2 separate regions of the Homo sapiens genome follow, and region 2 is linked to region 1. The links are contacts of gene promoters, found by promoter capture Hi-C in blood cells and fetal thymus (Javierre and others, 2016). All regions are on one chromosome and are shown on one strand. The core of a region is centred on a gene start or on the middle of the fragment in contact, and the rest is flanking DNA. Distances in the headings are between cores, read along the strand shown. Region 1 holds the start of MSANTD3-TMEFF1 (MSANTD3-TMEFF1 readthrough). Region 2 overlaps TEX10 (testis expressed 10).

The links. The method cuts DNA at HindIII sites, captures the fragments that hold promoters and counts their contacts. A CHiCAGO score of 5 or more calls a contact.
Region 2: a fragment that was not itself captured here is called in contact with the fragment with the promoter of MSANTD3-TMEFF1 in region 1 in 1 of 17 cell types (M1 macrophages); the score reaches 5.4 in M1 macrophages.

Annotation. Positions count from the first base shown.
Region 1 is chr9:100,440,443-100,443,648 of GRCh38, reverse strand. It overlaps MSANTD3-TMEFF1 (MSANTD3-TMEFF1 readthrough), which reads right to left and starts at 1,743. Exons shown (of 10, transcript NM_001198812.1): 1 at 1,293-1,743. The coding sequence starts at 1,710. It overlaps MSANTD3 (Myb/SANT DNA binding domain containing 3), which reads right to left. Exons shown (of 3, transcript NM_080655.3): 2 at 1,293-1,743. The coding sequence starts at 1,710. The HindIII fragment of the contact is 4,285 bases long and covers 1-1,812 here.
Region 2 is chr9:100,336,626-100,339,808 of GRCh38, reverse strand. All of the region lies in intron 5 of TEX10 (testis expressed 10), which reads left to right. Among named protein-coding and RNA genes, the nearest start is that of TEX10, 15 kb to the left of the region's middle. The HindIII fragment of the contact is 992 bases long and covers 1,342-2,333 here.

The sequences.
Region 1 (3,206 bases), core at 494-2,993:
AGTGTTTTTTTCCCCAAGAATTATGTATGACATATTTTTCTCTTTTTAATGGAAGTATATTAAACTTAAAGTTAATTTCTTTTGGAGCTTTTCAAGATCCCTGGGGTGCCACAAACCAAAACTGTGGATCACAATAGTATAATGGCAAAAAATGCTGGTTTTTAATCTGGGTGAATGCTAAAACAGGCGTTTATCATATTATTCTTTGCACTTTTTTTAAAGTTTGAAATAGTTCTTTTTTTTTTTTTTGAGATGGAGTTTTGCTCTTGTTGCCTACGCTGGCGTGCAGTGGTGCTATCTTGGCTCACCACAACCTCTGCCTCCCGAATTCAAGCGATTCTCCTGCCTCAGCCTCCCAAGTAGCTGGGATTACAGGCATGCACCACCACGCCCGGCTAATTTTGTATTTTTAGTAGAGACGGGGTTTCTCCATGTTGGTCAGGCTGGTCTCAAACTCCCAACCTCGGGTGATCCGCCCACCTCAGCCTCCCAAAGTGCTGGGATTACAGGCATGAGCCACAGAACCCAGCCGGTTGACTCTTTTAATATGGCCTTTTGAGTGGCCTACTGCAATGCTTTGCAAATAATAAGGACCTCCAAAAATATTTTTTGAAAAAAGTGAAATTGAGTGGATGAATACAAATCTTCATACAATTCTCTTTAACATATTTGAGACAGGCTGATAGGCAACTGCAGCACCTCACTAATAAGAACTCCATTAATCCAGTCCCTTATTTTTCTTTATGTTTAAGTAATAATAAAGTCTCCAAGAGAGCTAGCACAATGATGTAAACAAGTACTTTTGTTTTTATATATTACTTTTTTTTTTTTTTTTTTTTTGAGACAGGGTCTCACTCCGTCACCCAGGCTGGAGTGCAGTGGCGCAATAACAGCTCACTGCAGCTTCCACCTCCTGGGCTCAAGTTATCCTCCAGCCTCAGCCTCCCGAGTAGCTGGAACTACAGGTGCATGCTACCATGCCCAGCTAATTTTTTCTATTTTTTGTAGAAACAGGGGTCTCACTTTGTTGCCCAGGGTGGTCTCAAATTCCTGAGCTCAAGCCATCCTCCCGCCTCAGCATCCCAAAGTGCTGGGATTACAGGCACGAGCCACCACGCCCACTTCTATAAGACTTTGAATGTCCTATATAATCCTGAGATCTTGAATTAGGAAAATTGGATTTGATACAAAAGTTTCATTTTTAGAAGTTCCCTCAAAGTGGAGGGTTTTAAAATTAAAATGTCAAACAGATACCCAGTGAGAGCGTGCACACTGGCATCAGGAACGGATACCTTGGGCTGAGGCGTCGGGGTGGTATTCGGGCTCCTCCTCCGGGGGGCTCTGCAGGAAGTAGAGCTGCTCCGGCAGCATGCTGGCGATCTTCTCCTTCCCTAGGACGTGGGTACTCAGGAGAGGGCTGACGCTCCGTTTCACTTTCTCTCTCCTTTCATGGGCCATAATTTTTTTGGTCCGAGCCTTGATGTTCTCCCAGCACTTCTTCAGCTGTTTGAAATCCCGCAGGGACACGCTGGGCTGAGAGTTGTATTCGTGGGCCAGCGCCTGCCAGGTACGCTGCTTAAGGGCAATAGTTCGCGCATCACTTTTCTTACATTCCAGCACATATTTATACTTTTCTACTAAAGCCAGCAGGATGCTCTTTTCCAATTCTGAGAAGTATTTGGCAGGCTTTATAATTTCGTTGTTTTGCATTTTCCACTGTATTTCTCCTGGCCGCTAGCTATCCTGTAAAAGGAAGTTTGAAGCAATGATTACCAACTCCAGCAAAAACAATGCCTATAAATCACTGAAGCTTAATTCCTGACTTGATTCCCTTGTCTGAAATACAGTACTTTCTTTTCCATTAAGGTTGAATTATGATATTCAGGACTCTGGAGAATATTTAGAAATGTACTAGGAATGGGGTTTTATTTCAAAGTGGATTGTTGTGGCTATACTGTGACTATCTGGTATATAACAGCAAAAAAAGAAAAGTTGAACATTTTTTTTTTGAAACGGAGTCTCGCTCTTGTCACCCAGGCTGGAGTGCAGTGGCACGACCTGAGCTCACTGCAACCTCCACCTCCCGGGTTCAGGCAATTCTCCTGCCTCAGCCTCCTGAGTAGCTGGGATTACAGGTGCCTGTCACCACGCCCGGCTAATTTTTTTTTTGTAGTTTTGGTAGAGACAGGGTTTCACCATGTTGGGCAGGCTGGTCTCGAACTACTGACCTCAAGTGATCTGCCTGCCTCGGCCTCCCAAAGTGCTGGGATTACAGGCGTGAGCCACCACGCCCGGCCTAGACTCTGATTTGTTAATTGATTTTTCTTTAATATTAGGGAACTGATTATTCCCCCAAATCATGTTAGCCAGTTTTAGAACTAAACAGCTTTCCAAAACTTTTGTCACAGCTGAGGACAAAAGAAGCCACCGTGTACTCAAATATAAAATATGATGTGGGAGGCTGAGGCAGGCGGACCACGAGGTCAGGAGTTCCAGACCAGCCTGACCAGCATGGTGAAACCCCATCTCTACTAAAAATACAAAAATTAGCTGGGCGTGGTGGCGTGCGCCTGTAATCCCAGCTAGTCAGGAGGCTGAGGCAGGAGAACTACTTGAACCCGGGAGGTGGAGGTTGCAGTGAGCCAAGATCGTGCCACTGCAATCCAGCCTGGGTGACAGAGTGAGACTCCATCTCAAAAAAAAAAAAAAAAAAAAAAGATGTACAGCCGGGCACAGTGGCTCACACCTGTAATCCCAGCACTTTGGGAGGCTGAGGTAGGTAAATTGCTTGAGCCCAGGAGTTCGAGACTAGCATGGGCAACAAGGCAAAACCCTGTCTCTAAAAAAAAAAAAAAAAAAAAAAAAAAAGGGAAGAAAAAGAAGAAAAAAAAATAGCCAGGTGTGGTGGCATGCACCTGTAATCCCAGCTACTTGGGAGGCTGAGGTAGGAGGACTGCTTGAGCCCAGGAGGTCGAGGCTACAGTGAGCCATGTTTGCACCACCGCACTCCAGCCTGGATGACAAAGGAGACACTGTCTCAAAAAAAAAAAAAAAAAAATTTGACGTTTTCATCACTCTGTGGCATGTACCTGGAGCAATGGCAACCTCAGTTTTTTCATCTTTAAAATGAGGGGTTGGAGTCTGTGATCCTTCAGGTATGCGGGCTGTTTTTTAAAATCCTAAGTAAACAATGTATGTAATTTCAG
Region 2 (3,183 bases), core at 588-3,087, 100 kb after region 1:
AATTGATTAGAAGGTGAAAGTTAAAAAAAAAAAAGTAAGCCTAGAAATTATTTAAAATGTCTACCTCAAGTAAGAGCAGATAAATGTGAGAACAAGTTATGTAATAAAATTTGACAAGCAGGTACAAGCTAAAATACTAATACTGTAGTTCCCGTAAATGAGCATACACTTGCAAGGGATCTTAAAATCTGTCAAAGGCTCTTTTATCAAAGGGAATACATTAGCTAGAGAATCATTGAGGTTTTTTGAGCAGGGTTCAGAGAATATGCTTGGAAGCAATACAGCTATTTCAGGCATAAGAGTTTTTCATTCATGCACTAAATATTTGTTTTGGTTGCTTACTGTGAACAGGGTAGAACAAAGTATTGTGATAGAGAGGATCAGATTTTTTAAGCCTTGTACCTTGCCCTCCTAAGCAGTTTTATAAATATATATAAATATATATAAATATATAAAAATGTATATTATATATAATATATAAATATATATAAAAAACAAATATGTGTATATATATATGTATATATATATATATACTTTTTTTTTTTTTTTTTTTTTTTTTTTTTGAGATGGAGTCTCACTCTGTTTCCCAGGCTGTGGCACCATCTCAGCTTACTGCAACCTCTGCCTCCTGGGTTCAAGTGATCCTGCTGCCTCAGCCTCCCAAGTAGCTGGGATTACAAGTGTTCACCACCATGCCTGATTAATTTTTGTATTTTTAGTAGAGACAGGGTTTCACCATATTGGCCAGGCTGGTCTTGAACTCCCGACCTCAAGTGATCTGCCCACCTCAGCCTCCCAAAGTGCTGTAATTATAGGCATGAGCCACTGTACCCAGCCTTAAGCAATTATATTCTGAATCATAAAAGAATGTGTCAGGGTCCAGTCATGAAACAGAAACTGCGACAGTGATTTTTTTTTGAGACAGAGTCTCACTCTGTTGCCCAGGCTGGAGTGCAAGGCGTAATCTTGGCTCACTGCAACCTCCATCTCCCAGGTTCAAGCGATTCTCCTGCTTCAGCCTCCTGAGTAGCTGGGATTATAGGCATGCACCACCACGCCTGGCTAATTTTTGTATTTTTAGTAGAGATGGGGTTTCTTTCACCATATTAGCCAGGATGGTCTCAAACTCCTTACCTCGTGACCCACTACCTTGGCCTCCCAAAGTGCTGGGATTACAGGTGTGAGCTACCGTGCCTGGCCGACAGTGATTTTTTTAACAAGAGAATTTAATGTAAATAATTGTTAACTAGGTATGCAAAGGAAGTTAGGTATTATGGAGGTACCAACTGCAAGAAGCAGATACTACTTGTAGAACTGGGAGAACAAAGAAGGGAAGAAGCTTGGAGGAAGGGAGCCAAAACTCTAACCTCTCAGAAGGGTATGCTCCTCAGGCAGGTACTGATATCTTTAGCTGAGAGCAAGAACCCCATAGGGCTGGGGCCCAGTACTCTGAAAAGCGGGTGCTGGCTGGCTGGTGCTGACGTTTCTTAGAGGCATGATGATTCTGGTTCTGTGTCAGAAAAACTACAAACTGGAGTCTGCTATGGCTACTATAATGAACTGCAAATGACCTGAAGAAGAGCTGCCGATCAACACTGGCAGCAATAGGAAACAAAAACAAAACTAGCAAGCAAACAGAAGAGTGTCCCGTCTTCCTCTTACAGCTTTCTAGGCCCTTTGTACCACCCCTTTATTGGCAGAGCCTAATAAGCCATCTACAAAGGAAAAAATGTGGGTCGCAGAGTCCCAACCCCAGGGTCACAAAGCAGAGTATAGAGGGCGACTTTGAAGCTGAGAAACAGTAGCTCTGTAACTAACATTTACATGTGTATATTTACATATGTAACACAAAGCAGTATAAAAGTATCATTAGAACTATACAACTAAGTGCTATAAGAATTCATAGGAAGAGACAGATAACTGCTTATTAGGATAAACAGACAAAGCTAAATTGAAGAGTAGTATTTGAACTGGGTATGAACGTGGATATGGTTTCAGGAGGCAGAAATGCAAGGGATGAGACTTTTGTAACTAGAGGAGATAGCATACAAGAAAGCTACAGGATTAGGAAATGGATGGAGAGCGTGGATCTGGGTCCAGTCTGATTTCTGCTCTTCACTGGCCTTGATGTGGAAGCCGTTTCTTGACTCAGGAGTTCATCTTTCAGATCCTTTTGGCATTGAAGACTTTTGGTTCAGTCAGAACTGTTTTAGGGAGCTTCTGGAGTTGAGGGGACAGAATCAAAGAGACACTTTATTGAGCAAGATGTTAGACTTTTTCCCCCCATACAATTTTCTTATTAGAGTTTTTCTTCTGGGATTCATAGGTAAGCTTCAGAAAATCCATGAACTCTCAAAGTATTGATGGAGAATTATATGTATGTGTATTTTTTCAAATAAGGCATTCCATGTATAATTTTCATCAAAATGTGATTAAATTGTGGTTTAGATGTTTAGGATTTAGTAGACTTCAGTGTAAATAAATTATTGAAAAATGTATCAGCATATCATCATTCAAGAAATTTATTGGACTCTTATGTGCAAGGCACTTATTGTACTAGTTGCTGAGCATTTCATGGTAAAGGAAATAGGTAGAGTACCAGCTCTCATGGAGTACGGTCTAATGAAAAAGACATTTATTTCACTTGATTCTTTAATCAGTGACTGATTGTGATAGATATAGTGAAGGAAGAGCTTAGGTTAATACAGGAGTATGTAACAAAGAGTTGGTCCTGATCTTTCATGAGGGGAGGACCATCTTAGAGAAGGCTGCCCTGATGGAAGTGACAGCGTGCTGAGATATAAATGGGAAAAAAGAAAAGGAATTAACTTTATGAGGAGGTTGAGATGATGAAATTGAGGGATTTTTAGCAAAGATGGATTGCCAGTGTGACCTACTTTTCAAAAGATTCCCCCCTCATGATTGATTTTTGGGGAGCCTACAGGCTACTCTTAAGTAAATGCATTAAATACTTAGCAAATAGCCTGTGAACAGCAGCACAAATCACAGTTAGGGAAGTCAACAGTGGTCTAGGCCAACGGTCCCCAACCATTTTGCTATGAGGGACTAGTTTCATGGAAAACAATGTTTCCATGGACCTGAGGTGGGAGGCTTGGTTTTTGGGATGATTCAAGTGCATTACATTTATTGTGCGCTTTATTTCTATTATTACATTGTAATACG